3 separate regions of the Homo sapiens genome follow, and all the other regions are linked to region 1. The links are contacts of gene promoters, found by promoter capture Hi-C in human tissues and cell types (Jung and others, 2019). All regions are on one chromosome and are shown on one strand. Each heading gives the region's core, a stretch centred on a gene start or on the middle of the fragment in contact. The rest is flanking DNA. Distances are from core to core; before and after follow the strand shown.

The links. Contacts are between HindIII fragments. The study calls those that stand out against the background at their distance.
Region 2: a contact is called between a fragment that was not itself captured here and the fragment with the promoter of FABP2 in region 1, in 1 of the 25 tissues and cell types used here (spleen).
Region 3: a contact is called between a fragment that was not itself captured here and the fragment with the promoter of FABP2 in region 1, in 2 of the 25 tissues and cell types used here (aorta and mesenchymal stem cells).

Annotation. Positions count from the first base shown.
Region 1 is chr4:119,319,483-119,323,972 of GRCh38, forward strand. It overlaps FABP2 (fatty acid binding protein 2), which reads right to left and starts at 2,656. Exons shown (of 4, transcript NM_000134.4): 1 at 2,554-2,656; 2 at 1,188-1,360; 3 at 54-161. The coding sequence starts at 2,620. The HindIII fragment of the contact is 4,027 bases long and covers 2,033-4,490 here.
Region 2 is chr4:118,972,021-118,976,510 of GRCh38, forward strand. All of the region lies in intron 1 of SYNPO2 (synaptopodin 2), which reads left to right. The region is part of intron 2 of SYNPO2-AS1 (SYNPO2 antisense RNA 1); the gene reads right to left. Among named protein-coding and RNA genes, the nearest start is that of SYNPO2-AS1, 10 kb to the right of the region's middle. The HindIII fragment of the contact is 4,055 bases long and covers 1-3,897 here.
Region 3 is chr4:119,619,823-119,624,312 of GRCh38, forward strand. All of the region lies in intron 1 of PDE5A (phosphodiesterase 5A), which reads right to left. Among named protein-coding and RNA genes, the nearest start is that of PDE5A, 6.7 kb to the right of the region's middle. The HindIII fragment of the contact is 4,889 bases long and covers 1-4,359 here.

The DNA.
Region 1 (4,490 bases), core at 1,406-3,905:
TGTTTTGTAGTAATTTTTGCCTTTTGAAAATAGCTATAAATTTGACAACTCACCTGGACTAGTTCATCACCTATAATTTCTCGGACAGTATTCAGTTCGTTTCCATTGTCTGTCCGTTTGAATTTTCCAATAAGTTTATTTCCCTCAAGGCTCCAGGTCCCCTACATAATAATAATAATAATAATAATAATAATAATGGCATTTATTAGGGTCTTACACATGTCAGGCACTGTTCTGAGTTCTGTAGACACACTTTTTCATTTAATCTTCATGGTGACCCTATGAAACTGATACTATTATCTCTACTTTGCAGAAGAGGAGACTGTAAAATGGCACAGTGATTCACCTAAAGTCACAGAGTGAGGATTGAACCTAGGCCATTGGGCTACAGAGTATGTGTTGATAACCATTATGCTTGTTCTCTTCAATAATTTCCATACGCTGAATTTTAAGGCAGATGAGCAGCACTTCTTTCTGAATCTTTCATGTTACGTGTCCAGAAATATAGTCATGGTTAAAATTAGTTTCATGGAGATGTTAACAACTCTGTGCTTGTTTTAATTTGTGTGATTGTGGTACTAATTAAAGAAAGACATAACTTATGATAAAACATTCAGTAGTTAAATTGTCATTACAAACATGTAATTTAAATAGAAAAATGTTGAGGCTAAAAAAAGTTTTTAAAAAATTTGTTGAAAATGATGACTTCCTAAAATGTGTTATCTTAAACATGAAAAGGTACACTCCCAATGACCTACAATACATCAAATCTTTCCATTTGGTAACTCACTCATTTGTTCATCTATTCATTTCTTTTATTATTTCAACATGTTAAATTGCTATTACAGTTAAGTTACATATTAACTCTAAAGGCTTCTTTTGCTGTACTGTTTAAAAACACAGTTTTAAATTTCTTTATGAATAGGTCTATATTCAGTCATTCAAAAGATAGTTTTCTAATTCTTACTGTTCAATTCAGATTCTTCACAGATGCGTATAAAAATAAAAACATATTTAAATATCCTGCCAATTTGTGCAATATATAATGTAGACAAACTTCATTGGCTTCTTCAGTTAGTGAAGGAGACCTGCATTAATTAAACCATCCAATGAAATAGAGCAGAAATCATTTTAATATTGGGTAGAAAAATCAAGAATGCATTGCTCATAAAAAAAAAAATTCTTACCCTGAGTTCAGTTCCGTCTGCTAGATTGTAATTAAAGGTGACACCAAGTTCAAAAACAACTTCAATGTTTCGAAAAGTGCTTGATTCTTTGACTGTGAATTTATTTCCTTCTTGTGTAATTGTCAGCTTCAAATTGTCATGAGCTGCAAGCTTCCTTTTCACTATATTAACACCTGTAAAAGGTAAGACAATGGAGAAAATAAAGTCAAATCCCATAGGAAGTGTTTATTTTTCCAAGTTATGTTTTGTTTGTTTATTTTGAGGGTGGGAAGAAAACTCGGTAGCATTGCCTTTGCACAAGAACATTCAGATTGCTTCTACAGAAGTTCAGGTTCAATCAGATCAAGAGAACTGATTAAAGTTGTTTTTCCATAACTTGAGAAAAATTAAGTAGAGTACAGAATTATAGAATCTTAGAGCTGAGCAACCTTAATAAGATTAACAAACTGTTCATTTCAGTGTTAAGTAAATCAAATTCTAGAAATATCAAATGAAGGATTAAAATGTATATTCATATATTTATAAGGAAGCACATCTTTAATTCCACATATACAGTATTCTTTTTTCTTAAATGCCCCTTTGTTTTTCTTAGTGGCTTTAACATTTTGAACTTTATAGTTCTATTTGCTTCTTGTGGCATTTCTTTCTGACACAAAAATGAGAAAATTAGCAAATATTAAGCCAAAATCACTATAAGAATCTACAACTTTTATAAATTTAAACTTAGAGTTCCTAAACTGTAAGCTATAATTGATGCAGATTTTTCTTTTAGGGGAATGACACAAATTTGTTTGCCTATCTTGTATAGTATATGGGCTGCCAGAGTATTGGTATCAAATTATAAATCAGTTAAATTAAACGCCCTGGAGAAAACTACACAGCTTCTCAAGATTATTCCAAAACTTTTTTAAGTTAGAAGAAATCAGAATTAAATCTAACTTATTCAGCGCTATAAATTTTAAGAGAACCTTTTCCATTACTTTCTTATATGGTCTTTGTTTTTCCATCTCCTAGAATTTAACATTTTCAGATCTGGAAGTTATCATTACACGCTGCCATTTTCTTACTGTAAACAACAAAAAAAGTCATTTTTCAGTTAAAGAGGGAAGGAAACATTTCTGGATCTTTTTGGTGTGTTTCAGAGAACAGCACTCAAAGAATCTTTTCTTCCATTAGTGAGATAGTGGATTCTTCCTAATGTAAGAAGGGAGAATATGGTTTCCCTCCTCTGAACATCTTCTGGATCCTCTCTACCACATCAGGAGCTATCTGTAAGCTATCTGTAATCTCCTAGAGATTTAGGAGTTAGAAAGAAAAATGTTTGTAAGAAAGCAAAGAATGAGCCACAAAGAAATAAAGTCTTTACCCATTTTTTCCATGAACTTGTCATAGTTTTCACTCCGGTCTACCTTCCAAGTGCTGTCAAACGCCATGATTTCAGTTGAGTCAGCCTCTAGGCAGCTAGAGATTCAGGTCTGTCCTTGGGCGAGAATTTATTATATTTCTTATCTTAGAACCAACTTCATACTGTGATGTGGAAGCTTAAAGTTCAGGAAATCACCTAACTATGTCAAGCAATTAATTAATTCTTATTAATTAATTCTTAATTCTCGTTCTGTACATTCCTGAGATCTTCTGAAATTCAACTGAATTAAAACATGAGAAGCATACCTATTCTGTCTTAAATTACAGTTTGTGGGCATACTTATTTCAAGAATTAGAATGCATGCCGTCTGAAGATTGTTTTTCTAAGTTCAAAGTGCAGACTATGTTGGAGGTAATATAATTTATAGCATATATCAAATAACATCTGGGAAATGAGACCATGACCTTTCCCTTTTTCACAACAGCAATTATCTTGTAAAGTAAGACTTTATGATGAAATACAGTTGAAAAGTTAAAGTTAATAAGATTCGTTTTCTAATATGTCTTTTTGCATTGTGTTTAGCATTGCCAGGAGTTTGGATAAATATCCTGGCACTTTGTAGGGTGCATGACACACAATAAGTGCTCATTGATTTTTGTCTTGATCCTGAATGGTGATAGGCCACTGAGCAAAAATTCAAGAGGTACAAATGAGGCTGGATGGTGTAAAAACTTGCATAAAAGAAAGAATGAGCTTTAAACATCTGCCATGTGCAGAGAGAACAAAATCCAGTTTTAGCTGTGCCATTAATTAAAACCACTCCTTCATTTTACTCTCAATGCCTCTCATCCCCAAACCCAGTAGAGTCAGAAGCCACAGCTCAATTATGTATGTAGGGTCAGGGTATAGAGGGTAGCTAGAAAGGTACAAAGAAAAGGTCACCATATCTCTCCTTTCCCTACTTCAGGCTGCCAGCCAGGAACAGGCCAAGCTTGGGGAGGAAACTTGGTGTGAAGTAAAGAGTTTTAATTACTAGTCTTAAGATGTTTATTACTAAAATGAGTCTATTATTGTGACTGAATGTGACCAGATAACATCTTATTAACTAAGGGTCAGGAAAGAAGCTCTAGGGCTTGCCCAAGATATTACTTAGGGTCAAGGGAAGATAAATCTAACAGATTTGAACAGAACTTTGGGGAACAGAATCCCAGTTTTTAAATTTTGATATTATTTTATATTTTGATTTTTAAAAATCTTTTAAACATGTTAGATATTGTTTGATTTTTTATTTCGAGTTGCCCACTTTTTATTTTATTAAGTAAGCACTTTAAAAAGCAAACTATTTTCTACTAGCTCTATTATTTCATTAAAAAAGAAAAAGAGGCCGGGCGCGGTGGCTCGCGCCTGTAATCCCAGCACTTTGGGAGGCCGAGGCGGGCGGATCACGAGGTCAGGAGATCGAGACCATCCTGGCTAACACGGTGAAACCCCGTCTCTACTAAAAATGCAAAAAAAATTAGCCGGGCGTGGTGGTGGGCGCCTGTAGTCCCAGCTGCTCGGGAGGCTGAGGCAGGAGAATGGCGTGAACCCGGGAGGCGGAGCTTGCAGTGAGCCGAGATCGTGCCACTGCACTCCAGCCTGGGCGACAGAGCGAGACTCCGTCTCAAAAAACAAAAAAACAAAAAAACAAAAAAACAAAAAACAAAAAAAAACAAAAAAGAAAAAGAGTTGCCTGGTGCAGTGGTTCTTGCCTGTAATCCCAGCTATTAGAGAGGCTGAGGCAGGAGAATCACTTCAGGCCAGGAGTTCGAAACCAGCAGTTTGAGGCCAGCCTAAGCAACATAGGGAGAGCCTGGCTGTAACAATTATAATAAAATAAATTAGCCAGGTGTAATGGCACATGCCTGTAGTCCCAGCTACTTGGGAGGCTAAGGCGG
Region 2 (4,490 bases), core at 620-3,119, 350 kb before region 1:
GCTTACATGTAGAACTCTATTTAATCTCCACAGAAATTCTATGTAGGAGTTATCCTAACTTCTGACGAGAACTTCCTCAGAACATAAAAGAAAGAGAGGAGACAGAATAATATTTAACTATACTTATAAAAACAATTCTGAGGCCGAGTGCAGAGGCTCATGCATGCCTGTACACTTTGGGAGACAGAGGTGGGAGGATCACTTGAGCCCAGGAGTTTGAGACCAACCTGGGCAGCATGGGGAGACCCTGTCTCTACAAAAAAAGAAAGAAAAAATAGCCGGGTGTAGTGGTGCGTGCCTGTAGTCCCAGCTACTTAGGAAGCTGAGGTGGAAGGATGGCTTCAGTCCAGGAGGTGGAAGCTGCAGTGAACTGTGATTATGCCACTGCATTCCAGCCTGGCTGACAAAGGGAGACCCTGTCTCAAAAAAAAAGAAAAGGGAATTCTGAGATTTCAAGCAGAATCTGATTCCCTTACATTTCCCCAAATAGGAAAATAAAACACTTTTTATGTATTTTTTTCTTTTCCTCCAAGCCCTTCAAACTGTAAGGGCAGTTTGTCTAAACTAACTCAGAAGGGAAACGAGCAAATTTGTCTCTTAGGTGCTAGCTTTGTTTTTTCTCCATCACTTCTAGCATTGTCCTCTTAGGATTGTTGTCAGGTTTACAGAGTCAGCAAGGGTGAAACTGTTTTGCCCACTGCCTACAATTTTAAGTTATACATCTCTAAGTTTAAATCTAGTTCTGTGACCTTGGGCAAGCTACAAAAATCTCCTCAAAGTTCAGTTTACTTTTCATCACATAGTGAGTGCTTAATAATTTCAGTGTCTTTCATTTGAAAATTGGAAACAAATTAGATATTACAGGATCAGAAATACATATTTTGTAAGCTGGCTATCCCCGCTTGCTCACCTGCTTTTTCTCCCCATTCACACCACTTTTTCACACCAATGGTCCCCACTTATTATAACTCAACTTATGATGTTTCAACTTTACAATGGGCTTATACATGCATTAAATGCATTTTTGACTTATGGTATTTTTTGATTTATGATGGGTTTTGTGGGACATAGTCCCATTGTAAGTTGAGGAGCATCTGTAGAGTGAAAAACGTTTGAATTTTTGAGTAAGTCAGAATTATAGAATTAGTAATTCTATATTATTATGTGAATTCTGTTAATTATTATATGAATTCCATCAATTATAGAATTATTAATTCAAGGATTCTATTATACTATTATTAAAATTATAGTACCTCAAATATAAGACTTTCTCAGCATTTTAAAAAGTAGTTTTATTATACATATATACGTATAATGATTCTAGTAAGGCACACACTTGCACTAAGTGTGTGCACACAGAGGTCAGCTTCCTTTCACGGTGGTGCTGATTTTTAAGAGAAAGCCACAGCATAGCACGTATGATATGATACTGGCAGTTTTCGTTTCTGTGATGAGTGAGGATGAATTAATCCCTGTGCATGTCAGGTTTGGCTAACCACCATAAAAATTTCCCTTCACCAAATGTAAATATGTATCTTGCCAAGTACTTTCCACTTACTTTTTAAGCTTCATGTTTTTATTGGAAATTTAACCCATGCGTGTTGAGTTATTTACTGAACTCGGAATACTGTTGGGCAAATGCCAGTTCATAGCCAAAAAATTCCCTCCCCACAAAAGAACCCACCATAAATAGCCACATTTTTTTCTTCTTTCCTTTCATTTTCCTAACCACAATTTTGGATATTAATTAGTATCAGAACTAAAAGAAGCCTAGTTTGGTCCTGAAGTTACATAAAAGCTATATAGGCTACACCAATCAGTAGCCACTGGACATAAAACCTAAACAAACCCCACTGAAATAAGCAATCTAACATCACTCAGAACATAGTTTAACACAAGTAAATTCTTCATTGACCTGTTTTAAGATTCTTCTTTCTTCACAAAAGCAGGAGTCAGGTATTATTGTTCCCATTATACAGCTGAGGACGCTGACTTAAATCATCAACCTGCTTATCTTGGTCATATGATTTTAATTTTTGAAAAGAGAGTTGAGAATGAGAGTTAAACATAGCTAAATATTAAACCTGGACAATAATTATGTTTGAGCTAAGAAAAGAGGCATTTCTACAACACCTTTAGTGGGAGAGTAAATTTTAGTGCTCAAAGGGAATCAGCCGTAGCAAGTGGCATCTGTAGCATTTCTCAGTGGGATGAGATAGAAAATCTCACACAGGTATTGTATCTCAGGCCTTAGAGATTCCATACCTAGTTGTAGTGGTGGCTCTTTTTAGAGCCAAGTTATATAACAGGCTTTCTTGTTTGTGAATATACAGTCCATCCTTGACTCTCTTGCCCATCCTTGGCCACTGGCCCAGCAGAGGCCTAGACCCAGAATATTGTGGAAAACTGGATTTCTTGCCAGATTAGGTTTGACTTCCCTCACAGTTCACTTGTCCACACCTATGACTTCTCCCACATCTATCCCTAATTGATATGTTCAGCCTTGATTTTTCATTTGTCTTCTAGTCTTAATTCAACAATTTGATTGATTTTAACACATCCCTTTGCTTGGATACTTGCTAGCAATGTTCTCACATACAATCAATGTTAATACTGAAAATTTTGAAAAGAGAGCTGGGATTTTAGGGTTTCTTTCCCCAGATTTTGATTCTTTCCCTATGTTTCTTTCTTCTACCAACAGCATCACCATTATTAGGACTTTAGATTCATCCTTGACTTCTGCTTCTCTACATACCCTATCTCTCACTAAGGTGCAGTTTGCTTCAAATGTTGTCTCTTACCTCCTTCCTGGGGTTATTACAGATAACTCTAATCCAGGCTCTCATCACGTTGTTTTTGCAGAACTTTAATGGTTTCCTTGTTTCTCTATCTTCAGTCATCTCCTGTCTAGTCCATCCTACACACTGACTAATCTCCCTAGAGTGCTTACAAACCAATAATAATTTCTCATCACTACTGGATGAGAGCCAAGTGTTACATTCTGGCATTCAAAACTCTTTTCAATATGGTTCTACCCCAGTAATCCAACCTTACTTTCAATAACCTGTCACACACACCTTGCACCCACGTGAGGCCACCCTCTGCACCTCCAGGAGTACACCAGACTCTTTCCCACCACTGTTCTGTCATACTTATCTTATGGGCCACATATCGCTCAGTCATTGGGCTAAAGGAGCTAGACAAAGACCAGCACACAGAGTAACAAATAATTTGGGTGACAGATCCCAAAATCTATGTAGTACTACTGCTAGAAGGAAGACTAATCAACAAGTAGAATAGAGTTTGGGCACCTATGGCAACAGAAAATTTGGGGTTGTCTGGGCAAGAAGTTCCTTTCAGAAAAAGCCAAGCTTTAAGAGTGGGAATAGGCTGGCATATGAATGACAAACAGAGATGAAGGATCCAATACAACCATTATGAGGAACTTAAGGATACACACAGACAGGACTTGGGATATCTACTAACAAGTGGTAGCAGAGTCCAAGCAATCAGGCGAAATTCAAGAGCAGGACTTTCACCCCCAGGAAGGAGGAGGAGGTGCAAGGGGAAATTCCTGTCATAGAAGAGCTGGGTTACCACACAATTTATTAAGGGCACAATTAAGTCACAAAGAGTAAGACACACAGGGATATAGTTACAGGATTAGTTCCCTAGCACAAGGCAGAAGCCTAATCATCAAAACTTGGACTCTGGATCAGAGCCAACCAGCATTAAGTGACCCAGTCTCATACCCCAAAAAACACAGGGCTAAGAATATGTGCTCCACAGCCTGAGAGGGAATCTACCATAGTAAATGCCTTTGAACTTGAATTTCATTCTCCTGCCACTAGCTGTATGATCAGACACAAGTCCCATAACTTTTGTGAGCCTTACTTTCCTCAAAGTCAGGAGAAAAATAAATATTTTACAGATTTGTTGCAAAAATATAAAAGTGCCGGCTATGGAGACTGCCATTTATTAATAGACTCCCTGTCCCCTACCAGAGCTTTTGAAATCTTTCTTGCCCAATAACTGGATTGACTCTAGTGACTTTGTGTCCAGAATTGGTGGGTTCTTGGTCTCACTGACTTCAAGAATGAAGCCGCGGACTCTCGCGGTGAGTGTTACAGCTCTTAAGTTGGCACGTCTGGAGTCTGTCCCTTCTGATGTTCAGATGTGTTCGGAGTTTTTTCCTTCTGGTGGGTTCGTGGTCTCGCTGGCTCAGGAGTGAAGCTGCAGACCTTTGCAGTGAGTGTTACAGCTCTTAAGGCAGCGCGTCTGGAGTTATTCATTCCTCCCGCTGGGCTCGTGGTCTCAAGAGTGAAGCTGCAGATCTTCGCGGTGAGTGTTACAGCTCATAAAAGCAGCGTGGACCCAAAGAGTGAGCAGTAGCAAGATTTATTGCAAAGTGCAAAAGAACAAAGCTTCCACACTGTGGAAGGGGACCCTAGCGGGTTGCCAATGCTGGCTAGGGCAGCCTGCTTTTATTC
Region 3 (4,490 bases), core at 665-3,164, 300 kb after region 1:
GTAAATAATGCACCTAAAGTCTTCCTCTTAGAAAAGTAGGTCTGGGGTTGAAGCCTAAGGCTGTCCTATCTAGGGCCCTTCACCATAAACAGAAATCAATTTCAAAGGGTTCACAACAGTGGCTCCTAATCAAGTAGTGGTGCCAACCCTTGAGGGGCATTTGGAAATGTGTGGGAATAGATTTTCCATCACATGGATGGGGGTGGCCCTGGCATTTAGTGTCTGGAGTTCAGGGATGTTAAATGTCCTGCTATGCACTAGACAGCCTCTAACAACAAAAAAGTGTCACCACCAAATGCCAACATCTTCTTTTGAGAAGCAATGGTTTAGATGATTAAGAGATTAACAGACTATTATTAAACAAAACGGGAGATTTTGGACACCTCTAAGTGATATCCTCCAATAACCTCTACTCTGATGTTACAGTGAGTAGTTCGCTTGGGTCTGGCATGGTAAGGAAATGAAGAGTCTGCCCAAAGTTATTTAGTATTTCTAAGTTTGCTCCAGCTATGAAAACATCTGAGAACCTTAAAATGCAGAATTGCTTCATATGATTTTAACTTCAAATTTGACTGAGAATTGGAAGGGACAAAATATTTTGTAATTTTCTGTACATTCACAACACATGGTATAAAAGAAGTTGCTTAAAGGAAAACCTACCACTTCTGAAAGAAAACAATAACTCAAATCTATGCACTAAACATGTAAATCAGTTGGCTTTGCAGTTTAGATATGGGAGAGACTGGACTACAATGGCATTTATCTGAGGTTTGAGAGCCCACAGAATTCAAAACAAGTATGTTTTGAAGATCTTTACTTTGTTCTATAAAATGTTCTAATTTTATATTTTCACAATAATCATAATCAAAACAAAAGAAAGTGAAAGAAATTGCTTTCAGTTACTGGGAAGACCATCTTATTACCAACTACTGCCCTGCAATTTTAGTTCTAAGGTTTATATTTGTGTTAATGAGAAAATAAAAGACGTAAATTTAATATGCATATATGCCTTCATAGCAAGTAAAAAATGAAAGCTGGTATGCTGTGCTAGAGGAATAAGTTTCATGATTGTTCAGAGAGACCCAGTGGGAGAAGTGAAATCATTATAGGCCAAATTGTAGCAAAGGCCAGCTGACTTACCATACTGTTTTTCAGATAGTTAGAACCATATCTACTTTGCAAGAGTGTTTTAATGAATGCTGTAAATCTGCATTTGGCTGTGGTTTTATCATTTTGTTCGTAATTAACTGAGAATGTATTTTGGCATTACAGTTGCATAAATGTTGTAACTATGATTAAATTATATCTGCTTTTATTTATTCTACTTCTAAGAATTCCACACTTCACTAACATTAAAATAAAAGGAAGTCAACACTAGTTATGGTAGACATCTAGAACTTCTGGGTCTGCCCACATCACTTTCTTTTGGGAATGTACCCTCCCCAATGATATATCACCTTATGGGCTACGTGCCCCAACAAAACAGTCAAACAACCCTACTCTCCCGAATACAATGATTGGTTCAGAGTTGGGATGTGACCCAGGTGAGACCAGGGTAATCTGGGGAAGACTGATATGGATAAGAAGGCACCTCTCTAATATCAGAAGTTTAAGACCCACATACAGTTAACAAGTAGAAACTCTCAGCACATGAAGAAAGCATGCAAGAAAATAAAGCCAACACAGCACAGGGCCAAAAGATACATGGATAGATGAATACATGAACAAATGGATACATGGACAGATAAATAGATGCAAGGAAGGGCAGGTAAACAGAGTAGATAGATGAAAAGATAAATAGAGATAGGTAGATACATAGATAGATAGACAGACAGATAGATAGTTAGATAGACACAGAGACAGACAGAATTTTGGCAACATTATTTGATTAGCTAAATTCACAGCTAACCCAATCCCGCAAGCAATTAAAATTATGTGCATCAATTCTCTATGGGTTCAAGTTGAGTTTCTGTCACTTGCAACCAAAAGCTTTCTAATATATTGTAAATCAAAAAGAATGTCTTTCTTTAATAGGAGTACATTACTTAAGTTTGAAAAATGAGATTGGCCGGGCGCGGTGGCTCACGCCTGTAATCCCAGCACTTTGGGAGGCCGAGGCGGGGGGATCACCAAGTCAGGAGATCAAGACCATCCTGGCCAACAAGGTGAAACTCCATCTCCAATAAAAAAAAATACAAAACATTAGCCAGGCATGGTGGTGGGCGCCTGTAGTCCCAGCTACTCGGGAGGCTGAGGCAAGAGAATGGCCTGAACCCGGGAAGCGGAGCTTGTGGTGAGCCGAGATCACGCCACTGCACTCCAGCCTGGGCGACAGAGCGAGACTCCATCTCAAAAAAAAAAAAAAGAAAAGAAAAATGAGATTATATGATCCCTACTAACTCTAAATTTCAGTGATCCTGTGTGTGTGTTTTAATTATTTCATCAGCTCAGAATGTCAGGGTCTTCTCTCTTTGTATATTTTCAGTATAGGTATTCAACTAAAAGTAGAGAAGATAATTCTTATTTTTTATAATTATCACTATGAACATGATATCAAATGGTGATCCTTTCTCTCCCGATTTTAGGTAAAATACAATTATTCAGAGAAGAAAATTTGCAAAAAGTTAATCTTACTTTATAATTCAGAATCAAGGGAAAAGTCTCCCCTCTCCTGAAGATTAAAAAATCTAACAATGGTACATAAGACATTTAAAAGCATTTTCATTGCAAACTAAAAACCAGAGAAAATATATCTTTAAAAGCTTTAAAGGCCGGGTGCGGTGGCTCACGCCTGTAATCCCAGCACTTTGAGAGGCCGAGGTGGGTGGACCACGAGGTCAGGAGATCGAGACCATCCTGGCTAACATGGTGAAACCCCGTCTCTACTAAAAATATAAAAAATTAGCTGGGTGTGGTGGTGGGCACCTGTGGTCCCAGCTACTCGGGAGTCTGAGGCAGGAGAATGGCGTAAACTCGGCTTGCAATGAGCCGAGATTGCGCCACTGCACTCCAGCCTGGGTAACAGAGCAATACTCCGTCTCGAAAAAAAAAAAAAGAAAGAAAGAAAAAAAAAGCTTTAAAATATTTTTAGAATTTTTATCAAAATGATTCTTATAAACTTAACACTCAGTTTGCTTTACCTACCTTAAACATTTGGTTGGCAACAAATATAAATTCCTACCACTCAGAGAAAATGAATTAAGCACTTACATTGCAAAAAAAAAAAAAAGTAATTTAAAATGAGAATATCAGTCAGTAAATAAGATTACAGAGCTAAATATCAAATGAATGACTCATATGGAAAGACTTTCTTCAATTTTTATTCCTAGGTATGTGGCTCACAGGCACTTTTCCCTGAGAACCTGGTATAACAGATATTTCCAAGCCACATTCACCAGCTGTAATAGTGGCCAACTGAATCTACATCTATGCAGCTAAACTAATTTCATAGGAAGTCCTGCAAAGTCAGTAACTAGTCTGCATCCTAAATTCACAAATTAGTCATTTTTCAACCCTTCACTATCAATCAACTCATTGATTTATTTAATTGTCCTACAGTCCTTACTAAAGGTTTTTTTATCCTAGGAAGAGGTTTTTATCCCACAATTGGCTGTTGGAACAAAGAACAAATATAGCTTGACACAGCAATTATAGGTTTAACTTCTAAGTTAATTTGTATTTTCAAATCTAGAGGAAGGGGTGCCTCAAAGTAGGACACACTCCCTATAATCAGATAAGGGCGAAGCTACAAGCTTTACCTATACAACCTTAACAGAATTCCAAATATTTCAAAAGAAATAATACTTCAGACCAGAGTCAAATCATTTATTTAAGCAGAATAATTTAAAAAGGAAATTTGGTTGCATAGCATAATCAAAATACTAAAAATTTCCTCATCTTGAGGTGTTGAGGACATAAACGTGTGAAAATATTGACAATTTCTACAGATCATCAGATGACAGACTGAAAAAAAGCTACTGAATGATACCACAAGCCTATTTAAGTTTGTGTTATACTAAGCAAATCGATTTATTTGAAGATATCCATCTACACTAATTGCCATTGCATTAATTCTACCACATTTTTAGGAATCATGTAGTTTAGGCTCTAACATGGGTCTGAATTTGAAACTTTGAAAACACTAGAGATAGAAGAGCAATGAGAAACATTATTTCAGGGGCTCCTATGGATTTCTCCAGGCAGGAAGAATGCAATCCAGAAGAGTGCTTCAAGGACACTAAAAGCAGCTTAGAGCTGGTTATATGGACCCTGGTTATGAACAACATAAGAAAAAAAGGCCATTATTGCACCAGAATTACCATTATAAAAATACTATAAACAATATCAAAGTTAGACTGGGTCAATGCTCAGAGGGTTTTATTATCATCAACACTAACAACTGCCTCACAAAATATGCTTAACAATTCATTTGTCTGAAAATTGTGGAAAGTTTATATTCCTATATAATTATAGAAACAATAATTTAAAAA